Regions from separate parts of the Homo sapiens genome. Here all the other regions are linked to region 1. The links are contacts of gene promoters, found by promoter capture Hi-C in blood cells and fetal thymus (Javierre and others, 2016). All regions are on one chromosome and are shown on one strand. Each heading gives the region's core, a stretch centred on a gene start or on the middle of the fragment in contact. The rest is flanking DNA. Distances are from core to core; before and after follow the strand shown. Region 1 holds the start of THEM5 (thioesterase superfamily member 5). Region 2 has its middle 19 kb from the start of CGN. Region 3 overlaps CGN (cingulin). Region 4 overlaps TUFT1 (tuftelin 1). Region 5 overlaps TUFT1 (tuftelin 1).

The links. The method cuts DNA at HindIII sites, captures the fragments that hold promoters and counts their contacts. A CHiCAGO score of 5 or more calls a contact.
Region 2: a fragment that was not itself captured here is called in contact with the fragment with the promoter of THEM5 in region 1 in 6 of 17 cell types (M2 macrophages, M1 macrophages, M0 macrophages and 3 more); the score reaches 11.7 in M2 macrophages.
Region 3: a fragment that was not itself captured here is called in contact with the fragment with the promoter of THEM5 in region 1 in 10 of 17 cell types (M0 macrophages, M2 macrophages, M1 macrophages and 7 more); the score reaches 13.2 in M0 macrophages.
Region 4: a fragment that was not itself captured here is called in contact with the fragment with the promoter of THEM5 in region 1 in 14 of 17 cell types (M2 macrophages, total CD4 T cells, naive CD8 T cells and 11 more); the score reaches 9.8 in M2 macrophages.
Region 5: a fragment that was not itself captured here is called in contact with the fragment with the promoter of THEM5 in region 1 in 13 of 17 cell types (M2 macrophages, naive CD8 T cells, activated CD4 T cells and 10 more); the score reaches 14.4 in M2 macrophages.

Annotation. Positions count from the first base shown.
Region 1 is chr1:151,851,974-151,855,207 of GRCh38, reverse strand. THEM5 (thioesterase superfamily member 5) reads left to right here and starts at 1,496. Exons shown (of 6, transcript NM_182578.4): 1 at 1,496-1,765; 2 at 2,749-2,950. The coding sequence starts at 1,643. The HindIII fragment of the contact is 9,012 bases long and covers 1-3,234 here.
Region 2 is chr1:151,490,920-151,494,153 of GRCh38, reverse strand. No RefSeq gene overlaps it. Among named protein-coding and RNA genes, the nearest start is that of CGN, 19 kb to the left of the region's middle. The HindIII fragment of the contact is 6,284 bases long and covers 1-3,234 here.
Region 3 is chr1:151,535,748-151,538,981 of GRCh38, reverse strand. It overlaps CGN (cingulin), which reads right to left. Exons shown (of 21, transcript NM_020770.3): 18 at 3,084-3,202; 19 at 2,637-2,745; 20 at 2,089-2,252; 21 at 290-1,777. The coding sequence ends at 1,636. Among named protein-coding and RNA genes, the nearest start is that of TUFT1, 2.9 kb to the left of the region's middle. The HindIII fragment of the contact is 471 bases long and covers 1,301-1,771 here.
Region 4 is chr1:151,561,923-151,565,156 of GRCh38, reverse strand. It overlaps TUFT1 (tuftelin 1), which reads right to left. Exons shown (of 13, transcript NM_020127.3): 2 at 2,992-3,066; 3 at 2,471-2,572; 4 at 1,167-1,253; 5 at 543-632. Among named protein-coding and RNA genes, the nearest start is that of MIR554, 18 kb to the right of the region's middle. The HindIII fragment of the contact is 1,878 bases long and covers 590-2,467 here.
Region 5 is chr1:151,580,009-151,583,242 of GRCh38, reverse strand. It overlaps TUFT1 (tuftelin 1), which reads right to left. Exons shown (of 13, transcript NM_020127.3): 12 at 2,201-2,301; 13 at 1-1,599. The coding sequence ends at 1,536. Among named protein-coding and RNA genes, the nearest start is that of SNX27, 30 kb to the left of the region's middle. The HindIII fragment of the contact is 1,354 bases long and covers 962-2,315 here.

The DNA.
Region 1 (3,234 bases), core at 247-2,746:
CATCACAACTATTATTATCGTCATCATCACTGTTATGATTCCACCTTTGCACAGTTCTGATTTTTTTTTTTTTAAGACAAGGTCTCACTCGGCCTCCCAAAATGCTGAGATTACAGCCTTGAGCCACTGCGCGAGGACTGATCTTTAGAACATGCTTTTATTTTAGTCAATTTAAAACTGAGACTTTTAATTGAAAATTGGCAGTTTAAATTCAATAGAAGACACACCACCACCAAATCCCACTGCCTTGCAGATGTTGGCTGAGTGTCCCTTCCCACTCAACAAAGCCTCACTGCCGCGCCCACCTCACTCCCAGCACTGCCTGCTGACATGAGCCACTCCCTGGGCACGGGGTTCCCAAAACATGAGAGTATCCCTGCCAAGCTGTTTCCTCCCAAATTATTTTCTGCCCTCCCTGTCAAGCCCTCCCCCACCTCCAACTCCTATCCCCAGCCAGAGACCAGCAGGTGAAACTCTCCTGTGCTAACCCTTGTCCGGGATATAAGAAGAGGTGTTGGCCGGGTGCGGTGGCTCACGCCTGTAATCCCAGCACTTTGGGAGGTCACCTGAGGTCAGGAGTTCAAGACCAGCCTGGCTAACATGGCAAAACCCCATCTCTACTAAAAAAAATATACAAAATTTAGCTGGGTGTGGTGGTGTGTGTCTGTAATCCCAGCTACTCAGGAGGCTGAGGCAGGAGAATCACTTGAACCCAGGAGGCGGAGGTTGCAGTGAGCCGAGATCACGCCATTGCACACCAGCCTGGGCGACAAGATTGAAACTCCGTCTCACCAAAAAAAAAAAAAAAAAAAAAAAAGAGGTGTCTAAGGCTGTGAGTTGGTTTTCTTTTTTTTTATTTTTTTATTTTTATTTTTTTGAGACGGAGTCTCGCTCAGTCGCCCAGGCTGGAGTGCGGTGGCTAGATCTCAGCTCACTGCAAGCTCCACCTCCCAGGTTCACGCCATTCTCCTGCCTCAGCCCCCTGCGTAGCTGGGACTACCGGCACCCGCCACCACGCCCGGCTAATTTTTTGTATTTTTTTTAGTAGAGACGGGGTTTCACCGTGTTAGCCAGGATGGTCTCGATCTCCTAACCTCGTAATCCGCCGCCTCGGCCTCCCAAAGTGCTGGGATTACAGGCGTGAGCCACCGCACCCGGCCTGTGAGTTGGTTTTCTGAGTCACAAAATCATACCAGAGTTTTCAGAGTCCGGTATACACTGCAGAGCACATACCAAGAACACTCCACCAGCACCCTCCAATCAAGGGACAGGCTTCCCTTATCCTTCTGGAAATATTCTTGGATTCTCCCTCAGAACCCCCAGGCAGCTCTCCAAGGCTCTATATACCCCATACTATTTGTTTATGTACTTGTTTACTCCTTTTGCAACTCAAGCCAGTCCTGCTGCCTTTTCATGCCCAAGCAGCATCTGTCCCTCCCCAAGCACTGGGTGGGGCTCCTAGACCAGCTAAAGGCGCCGAGCATCTGTGGGTGTTGCAGCACACCAGCCCAGCCTCGCCTAGCTCTCTGAAAGAAAGCCTGCAACAGAAGGGAGAGAAGCGGCCCCAAGTGCAGCTGAAAGCACTCCTTGGGAGTCAGCCAAGACCCTCCATCCAAGCAGGGCTGGATCCTTGCACTTGGCCATGATAAGGAGATGCTTCCAGGTGGCAGCAAGACTTGGCCACCACAGAGGCCTTCTTGAGGCCCCCCGTATCCTGCCCAGACTCAACCCTGCCTCAGCATTTGGATCCTCCACAGACTCCATGGTGAGTTCCCAGCTCAGCCAGATGGGCAGTGTTTTCCCAGGAGCCTAGGGCTTAAGGAGCACCCCAAATCTCCTCTTCCCAGCCCATGGCCAGGGCAGGTGGGCAGTGTTCGGAGGAGCTATTTGATTTGGCAAAGAGAAAGTGCTCTGGGATACCAAGTTGCCCCCATTCAAAACTAAAACTACCAGGAGACCTGCATCTGGCTCTGTGTCTTGTGTGGCCACCAACAAATGACTTTCCTCCTGTGGGACTCAGACTACTGCAGCAAAGCTGGGGTATCCCCAGACAGAGGACCCCATCTGTGGCATTGGCAAGCAGCTCACATGCTGTCTACAGTTGTGACTGGTGTATGAGCAGGTGACGCTACAGAGGACTTCCTTACGTCACACAGATGGGCACATAGTCTGTGCCCCAGCCATGGCACCACACCTCTGTGGGGGCCCAAATGTGTTTCAAAGGAGCCACCCTGCCCAGGCAGGCCCACAGCAGTGGGCAGAGCTGGAGTAGCCCCTGAGGTGGGGGTTGCTAGAATGGTCCTCAACAACTGTGACCCTGCCCTGCAGAGGAGACAGCATCTAGTGCGACCACCAGCTCTCACAGTCACATGCTTGGCAACCTTGGCCGTATTCCCTCAGTTTCCCCATCTGTACAGTGAGGCTAATATGAGCAGTTGTCAACTTTAAAGAACTGCTCACATGTTTTAAGCAGAACAAGGGTAAGGCACCACATCGAGCAGCATGCCCATCATCTCTGGCCCCACTCCCTGCCCGCCCTTCCCTTGCTCTTTAGCATCCTTATGCCCCGTCACCCATAGGGGTCCGCAGCCCCCCTGCAAGGAATATGGGCCCTTTCCCTTGGATCGATACTCTGGCAGAAGGGATTGAGAAGCCCCAGCACCCAGGAACAGCTGTTTAGAGGTCCCGAGCCCAGGCAGCAGCCCCCCTCCAGGATGCTGTCTAGTCATTCTGATTTTTCCTGCCCAGTTCTCAAGATTCTTGCCAGAGAAGACAGACTTGAAGGATTATGCTCTTCCCAATGCCAGCTGGTGTTCGGACATGCTGAGCCTGTACCAAGAATTTCTGGAGAAGACTAAGTCTAGCGGCTGGATCAAGCTGCCCTCCTTCAAGTCCAACAGAGACCACATCCGGGGACTCAAGCTCCCATCTGGACTGGCAGTTTCCTCAGGTAAGGACAGGACCATGAGTACACACACCCCAGCCGCCCTTCCCTGTGTTCTAAGACTGAGAAGCAACTTCACAGACCGCCTTCCAGTTCTCAGCGAGTTCTTCCTGCTGTCCAACTCCACCCCTGATGCTGCAGCCCCAGGCAACAGGCGGCGGGTGTCCTCTCAGGTCTCCAGCTCCCCTCCTCCCATCTGAAGCAGCACACCCTGGTGGGCCCACCTTCGCTCCCAGCCAAGCATGTCCCCACTGGAGGACAGCCAGCCCAGCTCCTGCCCCGACTTCTCA
Region 2 (3,234 bases), core at 481-2,980, 360 kb after region 1:
CTAGTGTCTAGACTTAATTCCTGAGCTCTATTATTCAGCAATATTTATCGAACACCTACCAGGTACCAGGCACTGTTCTAGGCTCTTGGAATATAGCAGAAGTCAACAATAGGCAGCAATCCCTGCCTTCATGAGCTTACTTCCTACTGAGTGAGGAAACTAAAGGCCAACATCTTAATTCCACCTTCTGGAAGTAACATCTGAGTTACCTTCTGCCCTCAAAAAGGTGTAGAGAAGAATCTTATCCTTATCCTAACCCTTTTGCAACTTGTAACTTGTAGCTGCTCTGCTTTTTTTTTTTTTTTTTTTTTTTTTTTTTGAGACAGAGTCTTGCTCCGTCGCCCAGGCTGGAGTGCAGTGGCGCAATCTTGGCCCACCTCCTGGGTTCAAGAGATTCTCCTACCTCAGCCTCCCAAGTAGCTGGGACTACAGGTGTGTGCCATCACACCCGGCTAACTTTTGTATTTTTGGTAGAGATGATGTTTCATCATGTTGTCCAGGCTGGTCTTGAACTCCTGACCTCAGGAGATCTGCCCGCCTCAGCCTCCCAAAGTGCCGGAATTACAGGTGTGAGTCACCGCACCTGGCCATATTTCTTTCCTTTCTATTCACCATCTTCAAGCAGTTTATATGCAGTAATTCCAAGTTCCCTTGTCCCTCACCTGCAGTTGAGCTTGGAAACTGAAGGCTTTTCTGAGTCCTCCTTCTACCGGATGTCTCTTGTGCTTCTGCTCCCTATTTTTTCACACTCTTTTCTCCTTGGATTTCTATACCACTGCTCTATTATTTTCTACAGCTCTAGCCCTCCCCTGTCCCTGTGGGTACTTTTTTCCTTTCTCAGCTATTCCCCATAGCTGTGAAAAAGCTCTTTCCTTTCCTCTGCCCTCCACTCTTCCCCTTCAGTGGCTCATTCACTCTCATGCTTTCTCCTGCCACCTCCAAAAGCAGACAACTTTCAAATCTCCATTTTAAACACCGACCTCTCATCCATGTACTGAATCAGTATTTAACTTTCTCCAGAACTTTTGCACTTGTACGTCTCATCTCTACTTAGGACACAGACAAACCAAGCAAAGTAACTTCCCCCGTATACCAGCACTCCTTCTCAAATTCCCTGTCTTTACTTTTTGCAGCCCCCAATATATATATATATTTTTGAGACGCAGTCTCACTCTGTTGCCCAGGCTGGAGTGCAGTGGCGTGATCTCGGCTCACTGCAAGCTCCACCTCCCGGGTTCACACCATCCTCCTGCCTCAGCCTCCTGAGTAGCTGGGACTACAGGCACCCACCACCACGCCTGGCTAATTTTTTGTATTTTTAGTAGAGACGGGGTTTCACCGTGTTAGCAGGATGGTCTCATTCTCCTGACCTTGTGATCTGCCCGCCTTGGCCTCCCAAAGTGTTGGGATTACAGGCGTGAGCCACCGCGCCCGGCCTGCAGTCCCCAGTATTAGAAGGAGCAACTTCTTGCTTAGAGTTGCACTGGAGACTCGGTACTAATAATACCTGCCAGCTACCCTAAATAGGAAAGAAATTTAAATAAATTAATAGATACAAAACAAGTTTATGGCCATAGGTGGGGGTAATCTCAACCTTTGGCAAGCAAGGCTAGAAAGTAGCATCAGACTTCAAAGAAAACTTACCATTGTTAGGTTCAAGTCAGAGGGCAAAGAAGGAAAGTGCAGGACACTGGAGGGGATATAGGAGGTGGGAGGGCATCTGAGAACCTCAGAGAAGGAAGACTGAAGCAGGAGGGAGAATGGAGATAGGGATCTTGTGTGTGGGAAAACACACAAACTCAGAGTGTTTGTTCCTGTTATCTCACTCAACAGTAACAATCAACACAGACAGAAGACTCCTGTGACCAAATATGGAGGATTTCTCCCCACCAGCAAACAAGCAATCAGTTCTGCAGCAGACACCAGCTGGGTGTCCTCTAATTCGATTCTGACACCATCTACCAAGAGGCCACAGGTTGAGGGCTCAAACCCCAAAACTGCCCCCACCCACCCCATTCAGACACCAGTCAAAACCCAAGACTCCAGAATTTCTGACCCAGCAGATTCAAGTTGGGGCTCCTACAGCCCCCTCTTTGGACTCAATTCATTTGCTAGAGCAGCTCACAGAACTAAGGGAGACACTTCGTTTACCAGCTTATTAGAAAGGATATGACAGAGGATGTGAATGGAGAGATGCATGTCTGTTAGATTCTTCTTGGTCTCTCTATGCAGCCTTCCTTCCTCCAGGCTACGGGGTAGGACCCTCTCTGCAATCAGGGTCTTATGACTCACAATCAGATTAGAGTCCTGCATCTGGCAGGTGCAATGAGAACAGGAAGGCCCGGTGTGGTGGCTCATGCCTGTAATTCCCACACTTTGGAAGGCCGAAGCAGGTGGATTGCTTGAGCTCATGAGTTTAAGACCAGCCTGGGCAACATAGGGAGAGTGTCTCTACAAAAAATAAAAAATTAGCCGGACATGGTGGTGCACACTTGTAGTCCCAGCTACTCAGGAGCCTGAGGTGGGAGGATTGATTGAGTACAGGAGATCAAAGCTGCAGTGAGCAGTGATTACACCAATGCACTTCAACCTGGGCAACAGAGTGAGACATTATCTCAAAACATAAATAAATGAATAAATAAATAAGAGCGGGAGAAAGTCAGATAGCAAGAAAGTCTGCTTTCTGAGGCCGGCCTCTGAATCCTAAAGTGTCCTAACATTATAACAAAAGACTGTAGGCCGGGCACGGTGGCTCACGCCTGTAATCCCAGCACTTTGGGAGGCCAAGGCAGGTGGATCACCTGAGGTCGGGAGTTCAAGACCAGCCTGACCAACATGGAGAAACCCCGTCTCTACTAAAAATACAAAATTAGCCGGGCGTGGTGACGTATGTCTGTAATCCCAGCTACTTGGGAGGCTGAGGCAGGAGAATCACTTGAACCCAGGAGGCGGAGGTTGCAGTGAGCCAAGATTGCGTCATTGCACTCCAGCCTGGGCAACAAAAGTGAAACTCCATCTCAAAAAAAAAAAAAAAAAGAAAAAGAAAAAGAAAAAAAAAAAGACTGTAACAGGGGCATTGAGAGATATGAGCCAGGAGCTGTGGCCACATAGACTTCACATATCTACACTTAACTATTAATATTTGCTGATTCTGTATACTGTGCATGGTTAGCTCAGATAGAGTTTTGCTCCCATTAGTCAGTGAATTGACGTGGGATGACGATGATAAAAAGC
Region 3 (3,234 bases), core at 287-2,786, 320 kb after region 1:
TACACTCCAGCCTGGGTGACAGAGTGAGACTCCGTCTCAAAAAAAAAAAAAAAAAAAAGGCATTTACTGTCCTTGTTCTTCCCAGAAGGTTGTTCAGGAGAGAAGAGAATGGGGCTGCTATAAACATCTCCAGGTTTCGTAGGTCCCATCTGCTCTGTTCTAAAGGGCCTCTGAAAAGTCAGGTGAAGAAAACTCCAGCTTCGGCTCCTAAGCTGTACAGTTAATATGACTTCATAAAATCTGGACCTCCAAATATGCCAAGAAAAAGAATGAGAAGACAAACCAAGGATTTCAATATAAATGTGTAATTTTAATATTTAATTTAAAATAAAACCAAGGCTGGATTGGATTGGGAAAGAACGTTTGATTTGCAGAAGAATATAGGAATTTTTTTAATCACGACATTACAAGTCATTTGTGAAAACAGCCTTCCTCCTGCCACCGGCTCCCTATACAACCTGCTTAGGAAATATGGAGGTGAATCATCCCCCTTACCTCTTCCCTACCAGGGCTTGGTTCTCCCCAAAATCCAAAGGAGAAATAAATGTCTTCCGTTGCCTCTTCCCATTTTTACAGTCAGCTTCTAACCCCTTGCAAAGCCCTGAATCAGAGCCAAGCACCTCAGAAAATGAGGGTCCCTTGGTTCTCTTATTGAAGTTGGGCACATGTGGTCAGAGAAGCCCCAAGGAAGGCCACAGGGACTGACACCTTTACTTTTGGAATTTGTGCAGCCAGTTGTCAGGGCTCCCAGGTGCAACCACCTTATAACCATATCCACAGTCACAGAGGAGGGAGAGGAGGAAGGATGAAAACCCTGAGCAGGACCAGACCCCCGCCACTTTATCATGACCCTACCAAAGTCCCTCTCCCAGGGGTCATTGGCAGAGAAACCCCAACAGCTCTCTCAATCAATCACTGGGGCAGCAGGGAAGGCTGAGGGCCCTGGCTGGGGAAAAGCTGGTCTTTGGAGAGGTATGAATGTGCAGATATAAAAAGCAAGAAGAGCATCCTTATCTCCTTGCCTTGGCTAAGGCACTGACAGGAAAAATGCAAGGTAGGAATGGCAAAGAGGGGAAAGGAAGAAGACAAAAATATAGGAACTGGAGGGGTATGGGGACTACCACATGGGCCCCATACTTGTGCAAAGAAATGGGTAGAGCCATGCCTGCATGTCTGTTACCCATAACATTCCCCTCACCCTGCTCCAGAGTGGAAGGAAAATGAGTTGCAGGAATCCAGGGAGCACAATAACATAGGGTATTTCCCTGAGCCTTAGGGTTAAGGGCTAAAGAATAAAGCTTTATACACATGGCAATTTCTATCCCTTCCTATCCTTCTCAGTCCCCATCAGCCTAATGCTGACCATCCTTCCACTATAAGAGAGATGAGGGAGGTGTCGGCACTTGAGGAAAAGGCTCAGTTGGCTTGAAATGTCCACTCCTACAGTGGAAAGTCCATCTATCAGCTTATTGCTGATGATTTTTTTTTTTTATCACCATCACTCTGACCCCTCCCTGTCTTAGGTCTGAATAATTGGGTCACCCATAGGAATGCAGAACCCAGGGTGGGCAGAGCAGAGCAGCACTTGCTGGGATAGGCCTCGAGCCTGGTTTCTGAGTCCTTGAGGACCACGAGCTAACAGGAGCTGGTCTGTAGGTTGCTCTCCGTAAGCAGTGATGCAATGGACGAGGGATCGTAGACACTGTCGAATTCCTCATCTGAGCTCAGCCCTTCGTTTTTGAGAGCTGACTCAGCAGCTGAGCGGGAAGCTTTGCGCCTGACTCAGAGAGAAGAATAATGGTTGGGGAGGGGAAAATAGAAATATTAAGACAGCCACCCTTTTTGTACAAAGGAAACCCCAATTCTTCTAAGGCCTAAAGTTTATTCACAAAATCCCCAACTAATCAGATTTGGGGAGGTACAGGATGGTGGCTGAGATACTAATAAATAAATATACTGGCTTCCAACCAGAAACAAGTGACTACACAGTACCATGTTAGAGATTCTCCTCCTTATCCAGCACAGGAGAGACCATTCCCTCCCTGCTCTAGTGTCCCTATGGAGCAAGGGCAAAAGGGTAGCCCATACCAGGAGTCCTTCTCCAGAGACTTGATCCGGGCCTGGAGCTGTTCATTGACCTCATGCTGCTCCTCCACCTCACGCTGGGCCTTCTTCCTCAGGCCGTCCAGTCGCTCAATTTCCTCTTCTGCTTCATCCACCTGACGCTTCAAAGCCTTCACCCTCAGGCTTAGCTGGGCAGGATACCAAGTCCACACATCTGAATAGCATCTACTACCATGGCCTGGGACCCTCCCCCATAACAATCTTGACAAGGTATAATTGCCGCTGGAAAAATGTGGCCTTGGGCAAGTTCCTTAACCTCACATGGTTGTCTTAGGGATTAAATGTATTAACACATGTGTAATACTTACAGAACCTAGCACATCATAAGCACTCAATATATACGCTTACCATGACTTCTCTAGTCTAGTCTTTTCAATCTAATCTCTGTCCTTATACAAGGAAAGTCTAAGTTTGGAGGACCTATAGGAGATAAGGGCCTCCCTTGGCTTTCAGGAAAACATATAATATATACCTGCCCCAGGTTGCTTGGCTCCAGGGTGCCATGTCCTCACCTGGTCTTTCTGGTCATTGACATGCTGCCGCTCGTCTTCAATCTGGATGGATAGTTCTTTAACTTTCCGCTCCAGTTTTCGATTGGTAGACTGCAGAACTGTCTTCTCCCTAAGGTGAGGTAGAAGAATGTCTATGAGTGTCCCCATTTCTAAGGGAATCCTAACTTGGCCCCCTACTGTCCCCAAGGACTCCTCTCAGCCATGAGCTCCACCATTAGACTGGGCAGGATCCAGGGCAGATTCAAAGAATGAGGGAGAGTGACGTCATTCACATTTCAGAATTTCTGCAACACTCTTTGCTCTCTATCAGGAGAAAGTGTTCCCTAAAGATCAGGCCAGGCTGGCCATATCTGAGGTGGAAGATGGAGGGAGCCACAGAGGAGAAAAGCCAAGAGGGAGGGAGGAAGAAAAGGAGGGAGGAAGGGAGGAAGGATAGGCTTATGTCACCTCTCTTCAGCCTGTAGCCGCTCCTGCAACAACTGATTCTGGGACTCAAGCTGAGAGAGGCTGGCACTAGGCTTCTGGAAGCCTTCTGAGCTGGCCAACCGGGTCTTCAGGTCCTTGTTCTGAGAGGGACAGGAAGCCTCCACAGTTAGCA
Region 4 (3,234 bases), core at 279-2,778, 290 kb after region 1:
GAGGGTGAGGATACAGACACGAGGTGGGGTGGGGTGGGGTGAACTCCTAACCTTGAGGAACTTCCCATCCCAGGTTAGACATAACTATATACAAGATTAATAACAGGCTAGGGCACGGACTTCAATTTACGCTACAGGTATCACCCAAACTAAGCAAGATCAGCTTATGAGAAGTGTGGATTTACAGGTGATTGTCTGCTTTACAAAATTCTATTATTATAAGAAGCTTGATCACAGAATCCTTATAGATAAGAGGTTTGCTAACAACTGATGATATTTAATTTATATAAGTTCAATTTCTGTACAGTGTTTCAGGAGCAGGTGTACTTATGTTTAAGCTGACATGTGTAAATGTAAGTGCTCATCGGCTGGAGAGTCCTAACCAGATTGTGAGTGCTCCAGAGAAGCCAGCATCACCTCTATTTTCTCCATTCCTGGCAGGGATGCTAGATTTAGCACACACTGGGTAATTGGTAAATGAGACTGCCTGGCACAACCCCACCTCCTCGGTGGGGACCCAACCATGGACCATTTCCTATTACCTGTATCTCCTGTCGATGGAGAGAATCTCCTAGGTTCCTGTCAAGCTTGCTACTTATATCCTCCCGGAGCTTCTGTAGGCAGTTCCTGGCCTGGGAGGGGAGGGGAAGAAACTTGAGCTTTAGGGTAGAGAAAGAGAGCATGCCAACTCACCCAACTCTGTGCCCCATCCCTGGCCTGTACTGCGAGTCAGGCACTGTCCTAACGACTGGCTGCAGGATGGAGGGAGGGACCTTGGTCAAGTGGAGCTACAGCTGACATTCTTGTTGGGGAGACACAAGACACAAAAGACAAATAAGTAAAATGTGTAATATGTTATATGGGCATAAGTGCCAACGAGAAACACGAGCCAGGAAGGGAGTTAAGAAATGCTGTGAAAAGTGGCTGGTAATTTTCGATAGGTGGCTGGGACAGTGCTGGGCCCATAGTACTTAAGTATTTGTGGATTAATGGATCAGGTATGGTCAAAAGTTATATATTTGACACACGGGAGGGCATGGTGGCATTTCAGAGACATAAAGGAAAAAGAAGGGGAAAAACCAGAATCCACAAAAGAAGACAGTCACAAAAAATGTGAGATTTAGAGAAATGACCTAGGCACTGCGTGAGAGGTAAGGGGTGCCCACCTCCTGGATGTACTGGACCTCACTCTTCAGCTGGTTAATATTCTTCTCGTGAATCATCTTGTCTCCAGACCTCCCCTTCAAGTACACCTGAAATAAGAACACCATTTAGTTAAGAAACCTCAAATTAAATTAACTATACAAAAATAGGCAGCTTCATATAGTGCTGGTGGGAGGGTAAATTGTTACCACCAATTTACTGGGTGGAATTTGGTGATTCGGATCAGAAGACCTAAAAATATATTTACTTTTTGGTCTATCAGTTCTACTTCTGGAAATTTACCCTAATGCAATAAATTTAGCTCAATGCTATATAGCTGTATTGGCATAAACACTCACATATATACAGTCATGCATCACTTAATCATAGGAATACATTCTGAGGGATGCATCATTAGGCAATTTCATCCTTGTACAAACATCACAGAGTGTACACACACAAACCTAGATGGCATGGCCTCCTACACCCCTAGGCTGTATGGTGTACCCTATTGCTCCTAGGCTACAAACAAACCTGCACAGCATGTTACTGTACTGAATACTGTAGGTGATCGTCACACAATGGTAATGTATCTAAACCCAGAAAAAATACAGTAAAAATGGAGTATAATAATCTTATGGGACCACTGTTGTCTACGCAGTCCATCACTGACCAAAACGTTGTTATGCAGTTTTGTTATGCACTGACCAAAACTGTAACTGAGTCAATCATGTGGTATGGGATTTATATCTAAAAAAGCTGTTTTATAAAAAAAAAGAGAGAGAGAAATAACAAAAATCATTTTATTTTTTAAAAAATAAGTTCCATCAGCCAGGTGGGCTGGTGCACGCCTATAATACCAGCATTTTGGGAGGCTGAGACAGGACGATTGCTCGAGCCCAGGATTTGGAGACCAGCCCAGGGAACAAGGCGAGACTGTCTCTACAAAACTAAAAATATATAAATAAATAAATAAGTTCCATCAGGATGAACCCATTATAGGAAAACATAAGTTCCATAAACACACCTCCTACCTGTCTCCACAACCTCTAGCAGCAAAACATGGTCAGTGGATAGGCCCCTAGTAAGGTCATCCAGTCCATCCCCTTGCCTGGGGCCAGGCTGCACCAAAGTTGCTAACAGGCAGACTGTAGTCTCCTGGTATTAATTAAGATATTTCTAGGAGATTGCCAGGAACTAGCAGCTCAGGTCTGGTTCCTTCCATCAAACCACAAGCTCCCTTTGGCAACAACATCAACTGCTCCTTCTCATATACGTGCAGGGAGGAAGAGGACAGGGAGAAAAGTTGGAGGTGAACTAAGCTTACCTTAATGATCTCCTCATGTCCATCATGGGACTCCACCAGTTCTGAAGCCAGAGAATGACCAGCTGAGTGGCTGGACACCATGGCATAGGTCTTCCTGCCCGCCTGGCCAAAGAGAGATGAGAGAGAGAGAGAGAGAGAGAGATGGCTCAGACACCACATGGCAAGCCCAGAACTCCTGCCCCTCAGCTAATGCAGAAGACCTGTTTCTCAAAAGACTTGAAGGATTAGTCTGACTTTCCTCTCCAAAAATTCGTTTCCGAACTTCTAACAGAAGCCACACAGCAGCAAGAACACCGGCCAGGGAGAATGGACAGAAGTAGCAGTTTAGTTTTAATTTTAGTGGGGGACTCCTCCTGCCCCAAAGCAGTGCAGAAGGCTGAGGCAAGCTGGATGTTGCTGAAAGGAGGGGCTCCCACGCTCGCATCACCAGAGTCGGCTCCAGGCAGTACTTGGGTAAGAGGCCAGCAGCAAGGAAGCACTGGTGTGGGGAGGGGGCCTTGCCCACCAGAATTCCGCAGTACCTTCTGGGCTATGTGTTCAAGTTCATCTCCTGTCAGTTCACCCTGGAGAGTCAGCCTGAGAATGTCCACGCTGCCCTAATAATGACAATGACAGCAACAATAACCCCTCAACTTTACAGTCTACAGGTACAAACTGCTACCAGTACAGGGGTGCTTCTGCCAGCTCTGTGGAGCGGGTCTTATCATCACCACTTCACAGACTAGGAAAACTGAAGTCCAGGGAGGCAGCATTACCTTGCCCAA
Region 5 (3,234 bases), core at 389-2,888, 270 kb after region 1:
AACACCATGGGCCGGGCGCAGTAGCTCAAGCCTATAATCCTAGCACTTTGGGAAGCCGAGGTGGGTGGATCACCTGAGGTCAGGAATTCGAGACCAGCCTAGCCAGTATGGTGAAACCCCATCTCTACTAAAAATACAAAAATCAGCCAGGCGTGGTGGCACACCTGTAGTCCCAGCTACTCGGGAGGCTGAGGCAGAAGAATCGCTTAAATCCGGGAGGCAGAGGTTGCAGTGAGCTGAGATCGCGCCACTGCACTCCAGCCTGGGTGACAGAGTGAGACTCTGTCTCAGAAAAAAAAAAAAACAATAAAAAAAGAAAACCATGATGACCTGCAGGGTCATTCAGAGCCAGGATAAAAGACCAATTATGGAGCAAGGGGTTCAGAAGGGCTAGTGAAGAACTCATCTGGGTCCCAGAAGAGTCCTGATTGCCCTCTTTCTCCAAACAACATATACTCTGACCCCAAAGCCTCAGGGAAAGTAGACTCACCTTCCTTAGCTGCAGAGCAAGTTTGAAGGAGAAAGAGAGAAGAAACAGGCAGAGGAAAGGGAGAGAAAGATTCATAATAGTGTCACTCTGACATTAACAAGCCTAATGGGAACAGTTTTCCCGGTTTCAAGCAAATCCAAATACTGCAAGAGAAGGCTATAGAACTTTGGTATTATATCAATCATGAGATGTAAGCAAAACCACCAATAACTTAGCAAAATAAATACAAAGAGGATTTTGCTGGGACTGGTGGAACCCAGTGAAAACAGTTTTCAGGCTCTGGGTCAAGAAGACTGAGGTGTGCCTGGTGGTACACCTTAGGGAAAATCCCTAAAGAGACTCTGGGAGTTTTCACAGCAGAGAGAAGTCACACATGACTGTCTGTAGCCCTAGAGAATTTTTCCGCAAAAGGCTACTCCCTGAATGTACATTCCCTCCTCCCCAGAAAGACAAGGCCACCCAGTCAAAGCTTAGGTTCACTGGCTCTCACCAGGCCTTGCCAGGTAACCCCACTATCTGTCTGCAGGAGGCCAGGGCAGCGTAGGCTGCAGATGGAGCAAGTAGAAAAACAAACAGTTTGTTGCTAAGAACTGAGCTGTGTTTGTGGAAGGAACTTCATTCCCCCAGGACATTCTCCAATCACTCTGGACATCTGTGTCTCCAGCTTTTAGGGCTGAGGCAAATCTTGTCACCTCTCCCAATCTGATGAAGGCCTGGCTTATGGCACAGCCAGAGTCCAGTCTACAACAGAAGGGAGGCTCTCTACAGAGAAAAATAGTCACTGTAGGAATATAGATATTGCCCTGGCTCCTGCTTGCAGGACAATGTCTTCCAAAGGGCTGCAGTGCCTTGAATAGGTGCTCGTGCTCCGTCTGCCCAGCTTAGAGTGGCCAGGGGCTTGGGAATGGTGAGACACAGGAGCCCGAAGTCCTGGGTGCAGCCAGGGGACAGTCAGGAAGTCAAAGGCAGTGTTAACAGCCAACAGGGGCAGTGGGCTTCTCCGAGGCAGAGGCAGCAGCAATGGCAGCAACCATCTCCAGGCAGCTCAGGTTTCCACCACTCGGATGACAGGCATGGGCTTCGGGCTAGGCGGCTTGGATATCCTAATACTGAAAAGAAGGTTGGAAACACTGAGTTGTGCTGGGAACAGCTGTGTTGTGGCCCACCCTTCACAGAGCCCCTGGAATCTTCACATTGGCCTCTGGAATCTTACACTGCAGTGCTGGCTGATCACTTGGGTTCCAAGTGCTTTAAAACAGTAATTATCAGTGACAACTAGGGGAAGATTTGGGGCATGATACATGTGTCTTGTAGCAAGGGTGAAGAAAAGAGAGGGGCAGTTAAACAACTGAGAAGTGGATATAGCTGTGATTCTCGATTTTGTCAAGATCATGGGTCCTTTTCTGAATCTCTTAGAGGCAAAATACCCTCTCCCTAGAAATATGCAAACATTATAACTAAATTTTTCCTACCATTTCAGGTGGTTCATACATCTCTAGAAGCCATTCATGGACCTCCCTGGGCTTGTGTTAACAGGTTCTACTCTAATTGGGCTAGAAAATGGTTCCGGCAAACAGTGGGTCAGACTGAGGGAGGAAAGTTGGATTTAAAGGAGCCTTGTTCTTGCCTTAGCACTAAAGGTTCTACAGAGCTCTGTCCCTCCTTCTCCCCTCCTCCCTGGCCCCATTCTATCTACACACGCTCACTCACCTGCCCGGGTTCTCTGTCTTGGCCCGGGCCTGGGTGCTGAAGTTGCCATGACTGATTTGTTTTTCTATCAGGTGTTCCATCCGGTCATGCATCTCTAAATTCTGTAACACAAGCTTAGGGGTTAGAGTTGGCCTTTTTCTGGCTTCCCGGGTGCCACGTTCAGCTAGTGCATTCTGGTCTCTCTGCCTGTGTTTATGCTGCTGTTGCCTCTACCCCCACCATGCGTGCCACCACCTGGATACCCACTTGCCTCATCTTCATTACCATAGATTGCGCTTATCCTCCAATACCTGCTCCTCCATAACTCTGTACAACACTGACAGACTGATGGTTTCCTATATGTCCTCTACATACAGTTCTTTTTTTTTTTTTTTTTTTTTTGAGATAGGGTCTCACTCTGTTGCCCAGGCTGGAGTGCAGTGGCGTGATTATAGCTCACTGCAGCCTCGACCTCCTGGGTTCAAGTGATCCTCTCCTTTAAGTCTCCCAAGTAACTGGACTACAGATGCATGCCACCACATCTGGTTAATTAAAAAAATTTTTTCTTTTTCAGAGACAAAGTCTCACTATGTTGCCTAGGTCTTGAACTCCTGGCCTCGAGCAATCCTACCGCCTCAACCTCCCTAAGTGCTGGGATTACAGGCATGAGCCACTGCACCTGGCCCCTATATATAATTTTTTGTCCTCAGTTGAGATACTCACTTGCCTTTGTTGATACGCTATTCTATAAAGCATTCTTTGGTCTTTTTAAAAATACACATTTTATCTCTGACTATAGACTGCAAACTCTCTAAAGATAACCCTTTCTCCCATTTTTCTCCCTCACTACAGGGGATCTTCACAGAGCGTTCGCAAAGTGATCTTCAGGTAGTCAACAGACAGGTAGGGCCCTGTGGCAAAGTGGAAATTAGACTAGGAAGGCAACTCGTTACGTAATCTAGCCCTGGAAAAGGCTCCATCTGTATGAATGCCTCCTCCTCCTTCACAGCCCAGCACCACTGCCAGCTCCTTTGCAAAGCCTGGAGGGTCAGAAT